Linked DNA regions of Homo sapiens: all the other regions are linked to region 2. The links are contacts of gene promoters, found by promoter capture Hi-C in blood cells and fetal thymus (Javierre and others, 2016). All regions are on one chromosome and are shown on one strand. Each heading gives the region's core, a stretch centred on a gene start or on the middle of the fragment in contact. The rest is flanking DNA. Distances are from core to core; before and after follow the strand shown. Region 1 has its middle 15 kb from the start of TMSB10. Region 2 holds the start of SUCLG1 (succinate-CoA ligase GDP/ADP-forming subunit alpha). Region 3 overlaps DNAH6 (dynein axonemal heavy chain 6). Region 4 overlaps DNAH6 (dynein axonemal heavy chain 6). Region 5 overlaps TRABD2A (TraB domain containing 2A). Region 6 has its middle 11 kb from the start of KCMF1. Region 7 overlaps TRABD2A (TraB domain containing 2A).

The links. The method cuts DNA at HindIII sites, captures the fragments that hold promoters and counts their contacts. A CHiCAGO score of 5 or more calls a contact.
Region 1: a fragment that was not itself captured here is called in contact with the fragment with the promoter of SUCLG1 in region 2 in 14 of 17 cell types (total B cells, fetal thymus, naive CD4 T cells and 11 more); the score reaches 10.9 in total B cells.
Region 3: a fragment that was not itself captured here is called in contact with the fragment with the promoter of SUCLG1 in region 2 in 3 of 17 cell types (total CD8 T cells, naive CD4 T cells and activated CD4 T cells); the score reaches 6.8 in total CD8 T cells.
Region 4: a contact is called between a fragment that was not itself captured here and the fragment with the promoter of SUCLG1 in region 2, in 2 of 17 cell types (M0 macrophages and M2 macrophages). The highest score is 5.2, in M0 macrophages.
Region 5: a fragment that was not itself captured here is called in contact with the fragment with the promoter of SUCLG1 in region 2 in 6 of 17 cell types (monocytes, M2 macrophages, M0 macrophages and 3 more); the score reaches 10.2 in monocytes.
Region 6: a fragment that was not itself captured here is called in contact with the fragment with the promoter of SUCLG1 in region 2 in 6 of 17 cell types (non-activated CD4 T cells, naive CD8 T cells, naive B cells and 3 more); the score reaches 8.2 in non-activated CD4 T cells.
Region 7: a fragment that was not itself captured here is called in contact with the fragment with the promoter of SUCLG1 in region 2 in 14 of 17 cell types (M1 macrophages, M0 macrophages, fetal thymus and 11 more); the score reaches 14.3 in M1 macrophages.

The regions. Positions count from the first base shown.
Region 1 is chr2:84,918,888-84,921,587 of GRCh38, reverse strand. No RefSeq gene overlaps it. Among named protein-coding and RNA genes, the nearest start is that of TMSB10, 15 kb to the right of the region's middle. RefSeq lists enhancers at 1,063-1,252, 1,024-2,223, 2,203-2,262 and a cis regulatory region at 1,123-1,711. The HindIII fragment of the contact is 2,952 bases long and covers 1-2,700 here.
Region 2 is chr2:84,457,801-84,460,655 of GRCh38, reverse strand. It overlaps SUCLG1 (succinate-CoA ligase GDP/ADP-forming subunit alpha), which reads left to right and starts at 1,376. Exons shown (of 9, transcript NM_003849.4): 1 at 1,376-1,483. The coding sequence starts at 1,387. It also overlaps a transcript of DNAH6 not described here. RefSeq lists a silencer at 830-1,019 and an enhancer at 1,200-1,339. The HindIII fragment of the contact is 6,917 bases long and covers 1-2,043 here.
Region 3 is chr2:84,782,575-84,785,384 of GRCh38, reverse strand. It overlaps DNAH6 (dynein axonemal heavy chain 6), which reads right to left. Exons shown (of 77, transcript NM_001370.2): 66 at 575-663. Among named protein-coding and RNA genes, the nearest start is that of TRABD2A, 97 kb to the left of the region's middle. The HindIII fragment of the contact is 1,251 bases long and covers 771-2,021 here.
Region 4 is chr2:84,806,426-84,809,125 of GRCh38, reverse strand. DNAH6 (dynein axonemal heavy chain 6) reads right to left here. Exons shown (of 77, transcript NM_001370.2): 72 at 584-711. Among named protein-coding and RNA genes, the nearest start is that of TRABD2A, 73 kb to the left of the region's middle. The HindIII fragment of the contact is 1,519 bases long and covers 545-2,063 here.
Region 5 is chr2:84,852,487-84,855,186 of GRCh38, reverse strand. All of the region lies in intron 2 of TRABD2A (TraB domain containing 2A), which reads left to right. Among named protein-coding and RNA genes, the nearest start is that of TRABD2A, 27 kb to the left of the region's middle. The HindIII fragment of the contact is 5,384 bases long and covers 1-2,700 here.
Region 6 is chr2:84,958,459-84,961,405 of GRCh38, reverse strand. No RefSeq gene overlaps it. Among named protein-coding and RNA genes, the nearest start is that of KCMF1, 11 kb to the left of the region's middle. RefSeq lists enhancers at 877-1,566, 1,567-2,256, 2,257-2,947. The HindIII fragment of the contact is 3,010 bases long and covers 154-2,947 here.
Region 7 is chr2:84,868,819-84,871,518 of GRCh38, reverse strand. It overlaps TRABD2A (TraB domain containing 2A), which reads left to right. Exons shown (of 7, transcript NM_001277053.2): 2 at 734-1,294. Among named protein-coding and RNA genes, the nearest start is that of TRABD2A, 11 kb to the left of the region's middle. The HindIII fragment of the contact is 2,652 bases long and covers 115-2,700 here.

The sequences.
Region 1 (2,700 bases), core at 38-2,537, 460 kb before region 2:
TGGATTTTGCTATCTGCAGGGAGATAAGAATTCCTGTCCTACAGGATATATAACAAAATAGTGATTGTTTTAAGACGCTAAGTCTTGGAGTTATTTGATATGCAGCAATAAGCCAGAACAAAATGTGTTTAAGAATATAGTTTGGCCGCGCACGGTGGCTCATGCCTGTAATCCCAGCACTCTGGGAGGCCGAGGCGGGTGGATCACCTGAGGTCAGGAGTTTGAGACCAGCCTGACCAACGTGGTGAAACCCCGTGTCTCCTAAAAATACAAAAAATTAGCCAGGCATGGTGGCGGGCACCTGTAATCCCAGCTACCTGGGAGGCTGAGGCAGGAGAATCGCTTGAAACTAGGAGGCAGAGATTGCAGTGAGCTGAGATCATGTCATTACACTCCAGCCTGGGCGACAGAAAAAGACTCTGTCTCCAAAAAAAAAAAAAAAAAAAAAGAATATGGGCCGGGCACAGTGGCGCATGCCTGTAATCCCAGCACTTTGGGAGGCCGAGGCGGTCAGATCACGAGGTCAGGAGATCGAGACCATCCTGGCTAACATGGTGAAACCCCGTCTCTACTAAAAATACAAAAAAAAAAAAAATTAGCTGGGTGTGGTGGTGGGCGCCTGTAGTCCCAGCTACTCAGGAGGCTGAGGCAGGAGAATGGCATGAACCCGGGAGGCAGAGCTTGCAGTGAGCCGAGATCGCACCACTGCACTCCAGCCTGGGTGACAGAGCGAGACTCCGTCTCAAAAAAAAAAAAAAAAAAAGAATATGATAGTCCTAGCTACTTGGGAAGCTGAGATGGGAGGATAGCTTGAGCCCAAGAGTTCAAGGCCAGCCTGGGCAACATAACCTGGAACCCATCTCCCATAGATATGAGGGGCGACTGTATATAGATATATGAGAGGGGATTTATTAGGGGAATTGGCTCATGAGATTAGGGAGGTGAAAAGTCCCACGACAGACTGTCTGTAAGCTGGAGACCGTGGAATACCACAGTGGGGCTCAGTTCAAGTCCTAAAGTCTCAGAACCAGGGCAGCTGATAGTGTAATTCTCAGTCCAAGGCCAAAGGCCAAGAACCTGGGGGCTGCTAATGTAAGACCCAGAGTCCAAAGGCCAGGGAGCCTGCAGTTCTGATGTCCAAGGTCAGAAGAAGAAGGATGGCCCAGCTTCAGGAGAGAGAAAAAAAGAATTTGCCTTTTCTCTGCCTTTTGGTTCTATCTGGGCCCACAGCCAATTGGATGTTGTCCGCCCACACTGAGGGCAGATCTTCCTCAGTCAGCCCACCCACTCACATGCCAATCTCCTGTGAAAACACCCTCACAGACACACCTAGAAAGAATGCTTTACCAGCTCTCTAGGTTCTCGACTCCCCACTTTATTCAGTTTTGCTTTCTGTAGTTTTAGTTACTCCTGGTCAACCTTGGTCTGAAAATATTAAATTAAAAATTCCAGAAATAAACAATCCGTAAGTTTTAAATGGCTCATCGTTCTGTGTAACATGATGAAATCTCATGGCATTCCACTCTGTCCCTCCCAGGATGTGACTCATCCCTTTGTCCAGTGTTTCCACGTTGTATACACTACTCACCCGTTAGCTAGTCTCTTAGCAGCCATCTCAGTTACGAGTGACTGTCACAGCATCACAGTGCTTGTGTTCAACTGTTTAATTGTTCTATTTTATTATTAGTTGTTAATCTCTTACTGTGCCTAATTTATAAATTAAACGTTATCATAGGTGTGTACAGGGTTCGGTACATGTGTGGCTTCAGGCATCCACTGGGGATCTTGGAACATACCCTCCATGGATAAGGGGAGACTAGTGTATTACTTAATCAAGTCAAGTTGACAGCTAAAATTAACCATCACAGGAAGCATATGTCCTTTTCTAACTACTGAAACAAATTTTGAGGTATTGAAGTTATTGCTTTCTTGCAGCTTTGAAAGCAATCGTCTGTGAAACCATCTGGGCCTGGCACTCTTCTAAGTGGTAACAATGTGTGGGTGTGCACGCGTGCGCATGTGTGTATGTGTGTATGTGTCAGAGAGAGAGAGAGAGACATTATTCGGTGCATAGATTTATGGCTGATTTAAAAATATTGGACTGTCTGGCCAGGCATGGTGGCCCACGCCTGTAATCTCAGCACTTTGGGAGGCCAAGGCGGATGGATTACCTGAGGTCAGGAGTTTGAGACCAGGCTGGCCAACATGGTGAAACCCCATCTCTACTAAAAATACAAAAATTAGCCGGGCATAGTGGCGCAGTACCTGTAGTCCCAGCTACTCCGGAGGCTGATGCAGGAGAATTACTTGAACCTGGGAGGCGGAGGTTGCAGTGAGTCGAGATGGCACCACTGCACTCCAGCCTGGGTGACAGAGTGAGACTCTGTCTCAGGAAACAAAAACACGACCAGGCGTGGTGGCTCACGCTTGTAATCCCAGCACCTTGGGAGGCTGAGGCAGGCGGATCACCTCAGGTCAGGAGTTCAAGACCAGCCTGGCCAACATGGTGAAACCCCATCTCTACAAAAATACAGAAATTAGCTGGGCATGATGGCAGGTGCCTGTAATCCCAGCTACTTTGGAATCTGAGGTGGGAGAATCGCTTGAACCCAGGAGGGGGAGGTTGCAGTGAGCTGAGATGGTACCATTGCACTCTAATCTGGGTGACAGAGAGACTCCGTCTCAAAACAAAAACAAAAC
Region 2 (2,855 bases), core at 127-2,626:
TTCAACGATGAGTTATTTGTGTAAGGCATTGTTCTAGGTGCTGGGGATACTCCAGGATACAAAACAAACAAAAATCCCCGTCTTCATGGAAATACAAATTTTCATTAAAAGTGTACTGAAATTATATTTTTTGTCATCATGCATTTTATCAATTAAATGAAACTAAACATATAACTTATCAAGCGACAGCTCAGGAATAATTTTGCTATTTAAAATAGCAAGGGATTTTCTATTTATTTGCCATAAAAATGTCCATTTTGTTATAATGGATATATCTGGAAACCACTGATACTATTTAACTCTGAGGAATTTAGTTATCACAAGAACATGATCCATGAGGGAGGAGTTTATTTGCAGTGAAGTCCAACCTGTTAATGACAATATTTGGATCATAAAGGAAGTATTGGGCAATCTCCTGGGGTAATCCCACTCATCCATCCCACAGCTCAGTGCCAATTATAATGACTACCTAAGTAAATTAGGATTGCAATTTTATTGACAATTCTGATGAGGAATCTCAGGAGCACGATTTTCGGCAGAGACGCAGATTACTTCATCTCTTGTTTACCTTTTGACTCTGGGACTCTCTGAGGTTCCTTCTAAAGCTGTTACAGAAGAGGGAACTGTTTGTCCAATCAGGGAGCAAAGTCACATTTGACCTCGAATTTCAGCCCTTAGGATCCTCAGGGAATAAACACTCATGCACTTAGTGCTAGTCAAAGACTGCATGATTATTTAACTAAAAAAATTCACATTCCAAGAAGTTAACTGTCAGTAAGATAGGTTTTGGTCTTTCTCATCACATCTTTCCCTTCACAGGCCACCAGTGCCAGTTCGAATTCCCGTCCCCAGCGGCAACCCTTCCGGGTCCAGGCACAGGTACGCGGTGAGAAATATTATTCTCTCTAATAGCAAACGAGGAAAACGAAGGGGGAAGGAGATGGGCCTGGGATACAAAGTTCTGGCACTGCTCTTCGCACCTCACCTCGCTGTTTCTTCCCTCCTAGTCTTCAAGTCCCTTGTCTCCCCGGTCTCACTGCCGCTCTTCCCTCGCTCCCTTCCCGCCGCCTCACTCAAAAGCTACGAACCAGTCGCGGCCGTCAGACTACATTGCCCACAATGCCACGCGCTGGCCAGTCTCGCGTGGGGTTTTCCCTCAGCTGCTGTTATAATTAATGTTAATCAAACCCACATTTCTAGGAAGGAGCCGAGTTATTATCTGCCTCTCCGATAGGATGCCTCTTTGTCTTCACCTGCCATTCCCGCTGTTTCGTGAAGAATCCTCTGTAAAGGGAAATTTGTTCAGGCGACTGCTGTGGCCACCCTCTGCCTCCTCCGGCCTCTGCCCCTGGGAGGTCCCCGGGGGCCTGGGAGTGTCATTGGCGTATGACCGCAACCCTTGCCGCTGCCGCTGACATCGCTACCATGGTCTCCGGCAGCAGCGGCCTCGCCGCCGCCCGTCTCCTGTCGCGCAGCTTCCTCCGTGAGTCCAGCCAGTACTGTCTTCCTGGCGCCCGCGGGTTATTGGCCCCGCCGGACCCAACCTCCTGGCCCAGGCCGCGGCTGGGCCCTCAGGGCTGGACCTCGGCGGGGGCCTGGGAGCCGCTTGGGATTCCGGCTTCGAGTCGGGGACCCCTACGGTGGAAGGAGCTTTGCTGGATACGTGGGGCGGGGGGCATGACTTAGGCCGCTGGCAGATGGAGATATTGGGTGGCTGAGCCAGGATTCGGGTCCGGGAGCCCTGCAAATTTGGGAGCTTGCTCTCGGCCCCGCGGTGACAAATGACAGGATGGGGGTGGCGTCTAGACTGGCCTTATTTGGAGTTGGGGATGAAGAGGTCCAAGGTGAACTTGGTGGGGAAGGTAAGGGTCTGGGTTGAGAGGTAGAGGAAGAGTGTCTCAGTAGGAAGTTGGGGGATGAGGCTGTCCCTAGTACGGAAAGGTCCTGCACTTCGAATTCCCCCTCTGCAGGATTGTATGTCAGGGAAAGATGGTTTCTGCACACGGAGTGGGGTCGGCATAGCCGCATAGACTACTAGAAGCTTATGGTTGGCTGGGACCTAAACCAGCTTATTTGCAGTGTCTCCACCAGGCGATTTGTGGACACATCCGTTCCCGAAAACTTAGTACCCAAGGTTGCTAGTCTTTGAGACACGCTGACTATGGAAAATTCTTGCCATATTCAAAGTCTCTGTGCTTGTCAGGTAGGTTATAGTAGAAAGAAACTTTGGAATCAGCCACATCAGGGTTTGAAGTCTGGCTAGTCCCTTTTCAGTCTGTGTAATAACCCTGGACACTTAATCTGTTTTTCAGTGTTTCCAATCACATGAAAATATTAACACATTTTAAGGGGCCTGAAGCACCATCACTTGTAAGGTGGACCATTATTTTGTTTACCACTAACAATGAAGAACGATTGCTTATTAAAACTGTGACACACCAGTGGTTGTCACATGTATCCTGGTTTTTTAAAAAGTGAAAAAAAATGTGCATTTTAGCAATGATGATGTACAGGATGATCTGGGTTCACTGCAGAATAAGTGGAGCAATTTATATAAAGCATCTCGTATGTAACAAACACTCAAAGTTAGTTTTCTTTTTCCGCTTTGCTCTTAATTCTGCTTGTACTGAATATTTTATGAGACTTAATTCCTTTCTTGAGAAGATTACATTCTGAAAGTGTACATTGATGAGTGTGCACTCAATAGCTAACACTTAGTTGCCAATCACTTGAGGACAAAGGTCTGGCTAGATAACGTTAGCAAGTATGAAATGGTTTGTTTGGTAAAGCTTTCTGGAGATTCTTGAGAGTGTTGTAGGCAGAAGGACAAAAAGAATTCATTATACCCAGTAATC
Region 3 (2,810 bases), core at 147-2,646, 320 kb before region 2:
ACATGACAAGAACCTCAGACACTTCCATTTAGTGTCCATTTTTTCTAAACACAGGTCAGAAAGCATGCTCAGGGTTTCCTCATTGAATTTTGCATCATCCCTACATAGGGCATTGTTCCATAGTTTGTCCCCTGATGTCCCATGACGTGGGACAGGGAGGGAAGAAGCAACTCTTGTTCCTCATATGCAGAGGCTTGCCACAGATCATAAACTTCCAGCATTGAAATCCAGCAGCCATACTAGTATGGCTTGTAGGCCTTCCTGTCTCTCAAATACTGAAACATTCCCTTAACACTAGAAGGGGTTCTCTTCTTATCACTCTGTACCCTTAACATTTTCTTGTGAGGGTGACGGCTGGGAGAGCTGAATGACCCATAGGACTAGAATATGCAAGGATGGGGTTGGGAAATCGTTTCTCTGCTTGTTATAGGTGAAAAGATACTGACTTCACCTCCCCATGCTGGCCACACAGACCTCCACATGCTTCTGTGCAGGCTCTGATCTCCTGGGAGGCACTAGGTGAATATTCTGAAACCAACCATTTCACATTGTTCCAACCATATGCATACATTACCTTGACAGAATTTTGAAGAACTGTAACAGGAAATGTATTACTAGGCATGGAGCTTAAAAAAAGTCGAAAAGTGTCCTTGATAGCACTATCTGCTTAAAACAAAGATAAAACAACAAAAAAGGAAAATGTTTAGTTGGTAGTAGCACTTTTCTATAAGACATGATTATTTCTAGAGAAGGAAAAAATGCTATAAGCTTTGTTTAAAGATCTAGTTAATCTATTACAAGTATAGTGTAAACTGTTTCAAAATGGGAGTAAGATGCATTGTTTTAGAAACTTCACGTTAGGAAGGTTTGGCAGTCTAGAAGCAGGCACATTTGGGTAAATAAATTAGGAACACGATAATTTTTAATACTTGCTGAACTATTAAGGGCCTTATCTTTGAAATAGGAAACATTTTCAGTTGAAAAAGAGGGCAGTTATTGCCCATGTATTTATTTTCATGAGGATTTTTTGACCCTTCAATTTAACACAAGTTGCATGAAAATGGCCAAAAACCCCTACTGAGAAAATTCTCCCCTCAGCAGAAAAGTTGCAAAGGAAACAAGGGAGCCAGGATATGGAGAGACCTCATGTGTGGCATTAGCACGTTAAGTCAATGCACTTACTTTCTGAGATATGGACAGAGGACCCAAGAAAGAATGAGCTCCACTGTAGGTTCAAAAGGCCAAAGTAAAGTTGGAAAAATCATTGTTCCCATCACAGGAAGACACAGGCATCATTCAAGGACAAATTCCTTGGCATTGGTTTTTAAGTACGTATTATGCTGTTTCTCAAACATGCTAGGCTGGCTCCCTCACTAGGGCCTTTGCACTGGCTGTTCCCTCAGATTCCCTCACTTTCTTCATGTCTTGGTCAAATATCACCTTCTGAAAGAGGACTACTCAGATTAAACCACTTAAAATTGCTATCTTCCTTGCTCCCTACTCACATCCCATCTCAATCTTTCTGGTCCTCCTTACCTTACTCTCCTTTTTATTTTTTCCAAAGCACAACCATGTTCTAACACAACGTATACGTTACTTATTTACCATGTGGTTTATTCATTGTCTGTCTCCCCCCAACTAGAATGGAAACTCTACGAGGACAAATATCTATGGTTCTTTTGTTTATCAACATATCCTAGAACAATACATGGTACACTAGGCCCTTAATTATTTATGGAATGAATGACAACAAGTCAAAGCTGATTTCATGCTTCTTGGTTTGGTAATCTAAATTCACAAGCCACATTAAATAGCCCAAATTAAAAGTTAGTTCTACCAAATTCTAGAGCAATACTAACACTGTTTGCATAGTAAAAACTATTAGGCAAAGAAGTCAAACAACAACCAAAGTCTTAGGGCCAATGATTTCAGTAACCAAAAAACCAAAGAAAGAAGAAGGCCAGGTTTGGAGAAGGATTTTTTCCATACTTTTGTTCTTATAATTGCAAAAGCACCAAGCTTCTTAACTTTCATAGACATCATAGAATTTTAGGGCTGGACTAGAAGAGCATCTTAGAAATCATCTTAGTACAGGACTTTTCATGATGATGTCATGTAGTCATTTTATAGCTGGGGAAACTGGCCCAGAAAAAAGATATGACATGCACAGTCAGGAAGTGGTGGGGCAGAACTCTGTGGAGGTGTTAGGATTTCAAGTTCTGAGGTTTTATTTGTTTTGTTTTTTTTCTTTTTCTTCCTTTTGTATTTTCAGCTTATTACCTGAATGTATTTTATTTCCTACTGGTTCAAGTTAAACATCAGAACTTAAATGGTTAGGTGATAAATGATTATAGCAAGGGCCATAAGAGGATTTTTTCTATCCACTTAAGTTTAGTAAGCACTTAAAATACACAAACAACTTCAGCTGGCTTCATTAGCCGATCCAGTCTCCTTGAAGAACTGGCAAATGTTCTTGTCCTAGTTACAGTGAAACTGAATGGCATCTCCATATTCTGGAGCCTCATGTAGTACCACCACAGTAAATTGCTTTTTTGCTGCCTCTCTAGCATTTTTTTCTTAATTATATTCCTAATCACTGGGGACCCCTGACCAGTACTGAAGACCTCCTTGTCATTTCTCTTTAATTATTTAAGTAGAAATAAGCCACAGGCCCAGCAGGAAGCAGGCCCTCTCTTATTTGACAGCAAAAGAGTGGAAATAGTGGAGATTCTGAATGGTGGATAAAAATGAGTCCTTACCTTTGTCAGAAGCAGCCTGCAGAAGGCTTGTGGGTGAGGGCAGGGGGCCAG
Region 4 (2,700 bases), core at 55-2,554, 350 kb before region 2:
ATGAACATAAAGCAGAAGATCAAACAGGTGTTTGCAAATTTTAGTGACATTAAAATTATCTGGGGAGTTTATTTAAAATTCATATTCCCAGGCCCTGCTTCAAGAAATTCTAACTCAGTAGGTCTTGAGTGGGATCAAGTAATCCACATGTTGAACACACCACAGGGGACTCTAATGCAGGCATTCTGTGGCCCACACTTTGACAGATTATGGTTTTCACAGTCTCGCTTAAAGACTATGTTATGAAATGCAAACTAGACATTAGGAACAAACACTGAATTACTCTTAATTGAGTGCTTAGGTCTCTGAACAATTTCTAGTGAGTCAATAGAATCTAAGGGTGTAAGGATAAGGAGGAGACTGAGAATTTGTAATGTTACATATTCACTCCATCATTATTAGAAAATGGGAATACAGATTCATTAGAGAAGGATAAATTCATTTTTAGACTCATTGGGCTTGAAGAGTTGTTAGTGTATCCAAATGGAAATGCTGAAGTGATGGGAATGGAAGAATTTCATATTATACAACTCTCTACAAAGCTTTGATGCTCAATAGCAATGATGAAAGTAAGCTCTCATACATGAATTAACTTCAGCAGGTTGTTAAACCGGTCCACTTCCTGTCCAAGAACGGTGGTCAAGGAGTTCAGACGTCCTTGAAGATCCTTGACAAAAAGGCTCTCAGAAGCACCCTCCATTTCCAGTTTTTCTGAAACATACACAGCGATTCCTCAGGCCAGTCACCATTGATTTGTTCTCACAATATTGCTAAGGCAATGTGCTTATCTTAACATTTTTAAAAAGCCAGCTTCTCTCATTGTTTAAGCCAGATACATAGGATTTAAATGTGATGTTTCTATAATTTAGAATGCTTTTGTGATTCAACTGTGTTTATATAGAAGCAATCACAGAAAATTATGTTTAAATTCATGTGTATCAGTGTATCAGGGCATACACACACACACACACACACACACACACACACACACACATATATATACACTTTTTTTTCTCAAACATTAAACCATTGCATTTTGTTTCTTCCCTTAAAGCATGTTCCCCATGGGTATTTTCATCTTCCCAGCCAGTGTGAGCTATGTGATCTATGGCCCTGGGACAGGAGAGGTAGGTCCTTGTTGCTTAAGTGAGATCATAGAAAGACTGGCTGTGCTAATGTAGAAGGAGGACTGGAAAAAGGAAGGAGAAGCCTGCTTATTTTCATTCTGGTTGACTGTGGGGAGGAGGTGAGGGGTTGAGAGGGAAGAGGATGTAATGGAAGGTCAGCATGGCTCAGTGGTATCTGCAAGTTTGATGAGGGGTTTGAAAGGTCTCCAATGTGGAATGAGGGGGTTGGCAGGAGGGCATAGGAAGGTGTGCCTGGCTTTGGCTGATTGGGAGGCAGAGCCCTGAAGGCTTCAGTGGTAAATGCTAGCAGGATGAAGCGGTTGCCTGGCAGACAAGGAACATTCCAGAGACTAGACGGCCCAGGGACCCTAAGTCTCCCCCTCTACCATACAAGCGTTTAAATCTCCCACTTCCCTGCTCACCTGCACTGCATAGGAAAGGTTGGGGGCAGGAGACTGAGACAGGAGAGAGACTTAGTGTTTATCGCATGTTACTGGGCATTATTTAAAGGGACTGACTGCATTATTAAACAGGCCCATAGTTCAAACTGGATGGAAAATGTAGCTCTTCTTTCTCCCTACAATCCACCAAATGCAGGCTCAGATGAAGAACGATATGAGCTACGAAAGAGGAAGGAACAGCCTTTTTCTTGCGTATTTGAGAAAAGTATGTGTAAACAAATGGCTATGACATACATGTATCAAATTCCTTCTTGACCACACACATTTGGCTGCTGGACAAAAATCCCACAGCAGTGCCAATGAGTCTAATCTCTTGGGTCCGCTGTGCTGTGGTTACATGTCCCTGGTCTTCTCTTTCCACCATTCCTCTCAGGGCTATTTCAAACCCTCAGTTCTTTTGCTGAGCCAATTGTTTTCCTGCCCCTTCAGTCTCAGCAGATGATCTGCTTAGCATTTCACAGTAAAAGTACAAGCTTTATGAAGCCTGGAGAGAAAACCCTCCTAGGTGTCAGTGGGATTCTACCAAACAAGTGCATGGTCTCTGCAGCTATCCATTCATCTCTCCATCCTTTTCCCAACCAGCACTCTATCTTATATTTATTGATCTTATATTTAATGACTCTGTTTGCTTCAACAACAGAATTCTCTACCCAAGTAGACATTCTCTTGAGGGCCTGCTTCTAGGAGGCAGATAACTGACTTCTGAAACCACAAGGCTCCTTTTCTTCCAGGGGCTTTAAGGGCATTAGCAGGACTCAGTTGCTGTTTTTTCTGCCTCAATTTTCTTTTTCCTATAATGACATCTCTTCCAACCATGAATAATGAAGACATCTAAATCTCCTATCGATCTAAGAAAAGTGTTAAAATAGATCTCTTGTGATCATTCAGGAAGACCTTTTTTTTTTTTTTTTTTTTTTTTGAGACTGAGTCTTGCTCTGTCACCCAGGCTGGAGTGCAGTGGTGTGATCTCGGCTCACTGCGAGCTCCGCCTCCCGGGTTCACACCATTCTCCTGCCTCAGCCTCCAGAGTAGCTGGGACTACAGGCGACCGCCACCACGCCCGGCTAATTTTTTGTATTTTTAGTAGAGATGGGGTTTCACCGTGTTAGCCA
Region 5 (2,700 bases), core at 189-2,688, 390 kb before region 2:
CCTATAAAGATGAGCATTTTCTGCTTGTGGACGATTTTAAAGTCCATTCTGTGGGGTAGATGTACTCTTTGAATGTAAAGCTGATGATTCAGCCAGTGCCATATCATCGAGTCAGGTGTCCACTCAGGTGTAACTGGCATGGCTTGGGGAGGGAGGGGGCACGTGGAATCATGTCCTACATAGGGCTGTCCCTTCAGAGGCTGTGGTTTGGGTAGGGGTTGGTAGAGGAAGGGCACAGTGATTTGACACCTTTGGTACACCCAGTAGGAGAGAAAGGTCTGTAATCCAAGGATGGTTTTGTGGAGCTTTTCCCCAGAGGTGGACCTGACACCATGATCTCTGGGGGGGCAAGGGGCATTAGTTAACAGGACAGGAAGGGTGAATTTGAGGCTGTCTGTGCATCTTACCTGGTGGTGCTGTCATAACCAGGACAGGGCATTCAGGAGAAGTAGGTGTATTGCCTCTCCTTGCCTTAGAGTTGCATGGGTCTGGGCAGTCAGGCAGGTCTTGCCTGAGGAGAGGTTGGCTTTAGAGGCCTGGGAGGCACCAAGGCCAGTCTTCCTGCCTATTGCCCTGTTATTCTGTGCAGTTTCTCAGTGGAGAGTATCAACTTTGGAGACCGTGGATCTGGGTTTGAATCCTGGCTCCCCCATTTCCTAGTATTGTGACCTTGGGTGAGATATTGAACCTTTCTGAGTCTGTTTTCTTATTTCTAAAAGGGGTATGATGAAACAAACATTGTCAGTTTGTAGTAAAGAATAAATAGAGAACCTTTGTAAAGTGCCCAGTGCATAATGTTTTGGTAAGTTTGCTGTTGCTTTTGCTCCATCCACTGTAAGTGGTTGGGCTTACTCGTATCTAGCCTGTACAGTTGTCCCTCAGTATCCATGGGGGATTGGTTCCAAGACCCACTTGGATACCAAAATTCAAAGATGCTCAAGTTCCTGCTATAAAATGGCAAGTTGCATTTGGATATAACCTACGCACACCCTCCCAAATACTTTGTCATCTCTGCGTTACTTACAATACATAATACAATGTAAATGCAATGTAAATAGTTGTTATACTGTATTTTTGTTTTTAAAAATTGTATTATTTTTATTTTTTCAAATATAAATAATATATATTTATATATAATATATGAAATATAAATAAATAAATATTTTTTGAGATGGAGTCTCGCTCTGTGCCCAGGCAGGAGTGCAGTGGGGCGATCTCTGCTCACTGCAACCTCTGCCTCCCAGGTTCAAGTGATTCTTCTGCCTCAGCCTCCCAAGAAGCTGGGACCACAGGTGTGCGCCACCATGCCTAGCTAATTTTTGTATTTTTAGTACAGATGGAGTTTCACCATATTGGCCAGGCTGGTCTCGAAATCCTGACCTTGTGTGCCTTGGCCTCCCAAAGTGCTGGGATTATAGGCGTAAGCCACTGCACCCATCAAGGCTGGAAATCTTAAATTGAGGTATTGGCCAGTCAGTGTTCTCTCTGAAGGACCTAGAGGAGAATCCCCCCTTCCAGCTTCTGGTGGTTGACACCTATCCTTGGTGTTTCTTGTCTTGTAGGAGCCTCACTCCAGTCTCTGCCTGATATGGTTTGGCTGTGTCCCCACCCAAATCTTACACTGAACTGTAGTTTCCATAATCCCCATGTGTCATGGGCGGGACCAGGTGGGAGGTAATTGAATCATGGGGGTGGTTACCTCCATGCTGTTCTCCTGATAGTGAGTTCTCATGAGATCTGATAGTTTCATAAGGGGCTTTTCCCCCTTTTGCTCAGCACTTCTCCTTCCTGCTGCCATGTGACGAAGGACATGTTTGCTTCCTCTTCTGCCATGGTTGTAAGTTTCCTGAGGCCTCCTCAGCCCTTCAAAACCGTGAGTCAATTAAACCTTCCTCCTTTATAAATTACCCAGTCTTGGGTATGTCTTTATTAGCAGCGTGAGAACGGACTAACACACTGCCTTTGGCATCACATGGTGTTCTCGGTGGGTGTTTCTGCATGGTCTTCCCCCTGTGGGTGCCTGTCTTTCTGTATCTAAATTTCCCTTTCTTATAAGGACGCAGTCATATTGGATTAGAACCCACCCTAATGATCTTAACTTAAATATATCTGCAAGAGCTTGTTTCCAAATAAGTTCACATTCATAGGTCCTGGGGGTTAGGATGAACATATCTTTTGGGTGGGGGGAAAAATTTAACCCACAACACCCTCTTTTGCCCTCTCTAGTGGTTCCACAGCTGGTTAAGGAGATGATTTTCAGATTGACCTGTCTTCTGTGTCCTGCAGTGACCTTTACCCTCCTGGGCTAATGGAAACTTCTCCCATTGGGAGATCTATTCTTCTTTTTCCTTATTTCCTTCTGGTCTTGCCATTGGCCCAGGAGGCTCTGGCTTCCATCTAATTCACTCAGGGAGCTGTCACTCTGCACAATGGAGATAAAGGTCTCATCACTGGGCCTTTGGCTGCTCCTACATTGGGCATATGGGTCATCTTTGCAGTTGTCACATTCCTGCTGCCCTCTGGGGAAAGCCTGGTGGCTCTTGCTGAGGTGCTGGAAGCACCTCCAGGTACAAGCTGCAACACCCTCCTCCACCCTGCCAACAGCCCCTGAGGACATATTGGCCCTGCTGCTGATAGCCAAGCTAGCAACTCCTGCCACCTCATGGTCATTCTGGCCACCCCTCCCCCCAGCCCATGGTC
Region 6 (2,947 bases), core at 409-2,908, 500 kb before region 2:
ACACTCCTGTAATCCCAGCTACTTGGGAGGCTGAGGCAGGAGGGTCACTTGAGCCCAGGAGCTGGAGGTTGCAGTGAGCCAAGACTGTGCCACCACTCAACAGAGTGAGACTCCGTCTCAAAAAAAAAAAAAAAAAAAAAAAAAAAAAAAGCTTGTCAGAGAAATAAATGAGAAATTAAAAGATGGTAAGTGGAGGCCCCAGAGTGAAGGGAAGTGTTTTTGGTTTTAGGAATAGGAGAGTCTAGTGTGTTTAGAGGTTTAGGGGAAGGATCCAGGAGAGGCAGCAGAGAACTGAAGGGTGTATGTGTGTGTGGAGCAGGGAGGTGGGGGTGGTGAGGGTGGGAGATGGAGGGGAGAAGGAGCCCAGATAAATTTAGCTTCCACCAGGAGCAGGATGCCTCTTCCTCTGCTGGTGCTATAGGAAGGTTGCCAATGGGCCGGGTGCGGTGGCTCATGCCTGTAATCCTAGCACTTTGAGAGCCCAAGGTAGGTGTATCACGAGGTCAGGAGTTCAAGACCAGCCTGGCCAGTATGGTGAAACCCTGTCTCTACTAAGAAAATACAAAAATTGGCCAGTGACGGTGGCTCGCACCTGTAATCCCAGCACTTTGGGAGGCCGAGGCGCGTAGATCAGGAGGTCAGGAGGTCAGGATTTCAAGACCAGCCTGGCCAAGATGGTGAAACCCCATCTCTACTAAAAATACAAAAATTAGCTGGGCATGGTGGCTCGCGCCTGTAGTCCCATCTACTCAGGAGGCTGAGGCAGGAGAATCGCTTGAACCCGGGAGGTGGAGGTTGCAGTGAGCCGAGATCGTGCCACTGCACTCCAGCCTGAGAGACAGAGTGAGACTCTGTCAAAAAAGAAAAATTGCCAGTGGAGATAAAGGTGTCCATTTGGGTAGGTCAGGAAGCTGTGGTATTCATGCCTCATGGCCTTCATTTTCTTAGAGCGTAGGGTAAAATCATGCCATTTTTTGCCTCTGTGCCTCATAAGTTTGTACTCCTTCCTCCTTTAAAAATCAGCTGTAAGAGCTGGATGTGCTGTAAGGGCTGGACGTGGTGGCACATGCCTGTAGTTCCTACTTGGGAAGCTGAGATGGGAGGACCACTTGAGTCCGGGAGGTTGAGGCTGCAGTGAGCTATGATTGCACCACTGCTCTCCAGCCTGGGTGACAGAGCAACACCTTGTCTCTTGGGAAAAAAAAAAAAAAAAAAAATCAGCTCCAGACCCCTGCCTTTGTGAACCTTTTCTTGAAGGAAAGAGTGTGGGTTGGGGCCACTTCCAGTGGAATCACCAGGAGGGGAGTGGAGGGAGGAGGGAAGGTGCTCAGAATAAACATTCAATGTCCCTGAGCATTCCTAGATCAACCGGATCAGGATCTCTGAAGGATGGGGCTCAAAGATTGGCATTTGAAAGAACACCCGTGGGGATCCTGATGGTGCAATAAAGTTGTAGAACCACCTCACTAAGTGCTCCCAATTCCTTTTACAATTCTCTATTATTGCAATTTAATCCTTTCACTTCCCCCACTGGGCTGCCCTTGGGCAGGAGTAGGTGTCTTTGTTTACATACTTGTAGCACAGCCCTGCAGTTGGCTATCATAGTGGGCTTTGGGTGCTTATTTGTGAAATGAATGATGTGTACAAAACTGGAACCCAGATGTCCTGATTCCCAGACTCATAATTTGCTCTATCACATTTTATCTCTAGAAGCTGCTGAATTCCTCAGGAAGGCATTTCCTGGTCCAACTGTGCCTAAAACTCATATGCCAATTTAAAAAGCACAAATCCACATAGAAAGATTCTCTGAAGAAGGAGACAGTGTATGGGGGATTGGTTGCTCTAAGGAAGATTAGAAAATGAGGTCACCTGAAAGTGAAGGGAGCGGGATGCACACAAAGTAACAAGCCCCTGGAGCAGGTCTGTTCCAAGTGTGTCACCCAGGTCTCCCCCAAAAACCATCAAGGAGTTAGAAACATACTGTGGAAAAGATCCCTAGAATGTAACAGTTAAGAAGCTGGATGCTCAGGAGGTAATGAGTCATAGAATGCTTGTGTGTGGACTGCATGGAATCCAGAAAAGGGGAAGCCATAGGTTAGAAATTATAGCGTCTCAGCTGGGCACGGTGGCTCACGCCTGTAATCCTAGCTCTTTGGGAGGCTGAGGTGGGTGGATCACCTGAGGTCAGGAGTTCGAGACCAGCCTAGCCAACATGGCTTCACCGTCTCTACTGAAAATACAAAAATTAGCCAGCGTGGTGGCGGACGCCTATAATCCCAGCTATTCAGGAGACTGAGGCAGGAGAATCGCCTGAACCCGGTGGGGTGGAGGTTGCAGTGAGCCAAGATCGCGCCACTTCATTCCAGCCTGGGTGAAAAAGCAAAACTCTTGTCTCAAAAAAAAAAAAAAAAAAGAAGAAGCAATTAGAATTTATAGAGTTGTTGTAATATCCAAAGGTATAGATGCTCTGATACCACTGGGTAGTGCTGTTAATTTAGAAAGAACTGGTCCAAAAGAATGCGAATTCATCTTAGGAGAAATGGGTGTTTCCACTAAGAACAGCTCATCCCTTTTCTTTAATCATTTAGTAACTCTTTATAGATTACCTCCAATGTGTCAGGGGCTGTATTCACTGTGTCTTGCCGGAGATATGACAGTGGGCAAAACAGGTACAGGACGTACCCTTGAGAACTCACAGTATTATTCTTGTTTATTCATCAGGTTTCTAACCTGTAATTTGATATGCTTTGTGGATTTGCCTGGCACTCTGAGCAAATGACCAAAACCAATTATTCTGCCAGGTAGGCCTCTGTTCTCACGTTAATAACATTCTAGTTGTGAGTCATTTATGACTTCGATGAGAGAGTATAAAACAAACAGTTCCATTAGGGGTTGGTTTTTCCCTGGACAAATGGGTACAGAGCTGGGCCTGCTGATGAGCTCAGCA
Region 7 (2,700 bases), core at 191-2,690, 410 kb before region 2:
CAGAGTGAGACTCCTTCTCAAAAAAAAAAAAAAGTAGCATTTCTGAGTTCCACCTCCAGAGATTCTGATGTGATTGGTCTGGGGTGGGACCCAGGCATTGGACTTTCAAAAGCTTTGGGGGTGATTCCAGTGCATAGCTAGAGTTGAAGCCTCTGCCTTTGGGGATGTTGGTTTTGAGATCTGAAAGAGCAGGGATCATCAGGTCTGCCTGGGAGACAGTGGGCTTCTCAGGTGTCTCTTAGATGGTATCAGGTATATCCTTGGAGGCCCCTGAGACTCACTTCTTTAACTCTTGCCCAGTTCATTGCTAGGGCAGGCATGGCACAATCTCAAAACTGGTGACTGCTATTGCTTTCTCATCTTGGAATCAACATTTTGATTGAAAAGGGGGTCCCATCCCCTTTTGATTGAAAAGCTGAGTCTCATCCCAGACCAATCAGATCAGAATGTCTGGAGGTAGGACTCAGAGATGCTTCTTTTAAAGCTCCGCTGGTGATCCCAACATACAGCCAAGGTTGAAACTAGAGTCCTAATGAGCCCCTGATTTCATAATTTGCTCCTGTCTATTTAGGGCAATGGATTGTCCTGGCAGGTGAATCTACACGGACTCAAAAGTCTAAATTCTACTTTGATATCTTTTCTCTTGAAATGTGACTGATTCATTTCCTCTCACAGGTTCCTGACCATGCCTCTCCCCCATATTATACCTTGATGTTACCTCTTTTCTTTTCAGCAAAGCGAGCTGAATTCCTTCTTGTGGACCATTAAGCGAGACCCACCATCTTACTTCTTTGGCACAATCCATGTCCCGTACACCCGAGTTTGGGACTTCATCCCCGACAACTCTAAGGAGGCTTTCCTGCAGAGCAGCATTGTGTACTTTGAGTTGGATCTCACAGACCCCTATACCATCTCAGCTCTCACCAGCTGTCAGATGCTGCCACAGGGCGAGAACCTCCAAGATGTGCTCCCCAGGGACATCTACTGCCGCCTCAAGCGCCACCTGGAGTATGTCAAGCTCATGATGCCCTTGTGGATGACCCCAGACCAGCGCGGCAAGGGGCTCTACGCAGACTACCTCTTCAATGCTATTGCCGGAAACTGGGAGCGCAAGAGGCCTGTCTGGGTGATGCTCATGGTCAACTCCCTGACTGAAGTGGACATTAAGTCCCGTGGAGTGCCTGTCTTAGACCTGTTCCTTGCCCAGGAGGCTGAGCGGCTGAGGAAACAGACTGGGGCAGTGGAAAAGGTGGAAGAGCAGTGCCATCCATTGAATGGGTTGAACTTTTCACAGGTAAGACTCTCTTTGCATAAAAGACTTAGTGGCATTTGGTTGTATGGGTGAATCTGTTGAGTTTCAGGGCAGGTGATGGATCACGGGCACAGCTTGTCTAGAAATTGTCTTTGCTTAAAAATGCTTTTCCGGGGGTTAAAAAAAAAGCCAAGTGGTCAGTTATATCACTTATTTGAGTATTGCCAAGAAAAAAAACTTGTTTTTTTCTTATCATTCCAACAAATACTGTGTACTTTTTTTTTTTTTTTTTTGGGACAGAGTCATTCCACCCAGGCTGGAGTGCAGTGGTGCGATCTCAGTTCACTGCAACCTCTGCCCTCTGGGTTCAAGCATTTCTCCTGTCTCAGCCTCCCTAGTAGCTGGGATTACAGGTGTGTGCTACCACGCCCGACTACTTTTTGTATTTTTAGTAGAGACGAGGTTTTGCCATGTTGCCAGGCTGGTCTCGAACTCCTGACCTCAAGTGATCTGCCTGCCTCGGCCTCCCAAAGTGCTGGGATTACAGGTGTGAGCCACTGTGCCTGGCCCATACTGTGTGCTTTTAAAATGCATCTTAGTTCAGATCCTTCATTAAAAAGCTGCTTTGAGACGTTGTGGACATGTGGATGCCACACTGGTTGTCACAGGGCATGGCCTGGTTTGAAAATATACTGGCCATTGCTACTTTAGGAGACAGCAGTCTCTTTGAGGTCACTACTGTCCCTCTTTAGGACACTGCCCCAGGACAGTTCCTTTCCTAGGCAGAGTTATGCTCTTCTTACCCCTGGTTTAAGGATCCTACCCCAGGGCATTGGAATTTAATTTGATGTTCAAGAAGTTGGTTCTTCAATTCTCATAAGTAATACTTGATTAAAGTGCCATGGTTTAGTTGTTTCCATAAAAGTTGTTTAAAGTGCATTAGACACTTCTGGAGACCAATGGGAGTCTTGCAATATGAAATAAAGTGTTCTTGTTTTGTAAATGTTCTCATTGGGTCACGTTGAGGTTTTGTTCCTCAGAATTTGAGATTACTGTTAATCCAAATAGCTCAGCCTTAGCAGATCTTGACATACTGAACTAAGGTTGTTATTTAAAAGGTGTAAGGACATGTAACAATCTAAAAATAATGTTCCTGAGTTGATAATGATATCTTTAGGGAATTTATCTTGCTAAAATTCTATAATATTAATAAGTAATCCGATGCTATTCTATATGCTATAGTATTTGTTTGGCACACTAAGATTTATAGATAAGATAAGGGATCATTAATTGTCTGCATTGATCTCCTGGGAAAGATTTTCTTGCATTATTATGGAAACCCAAAGAGCCAATGTTATAACCTTTTCAATGTCTGCATTTAATATAATATTTTGAAAAAGAAAGGTGCTTTGATTTGAAGGCTTATTGATTTTGACGGAATGAATTTG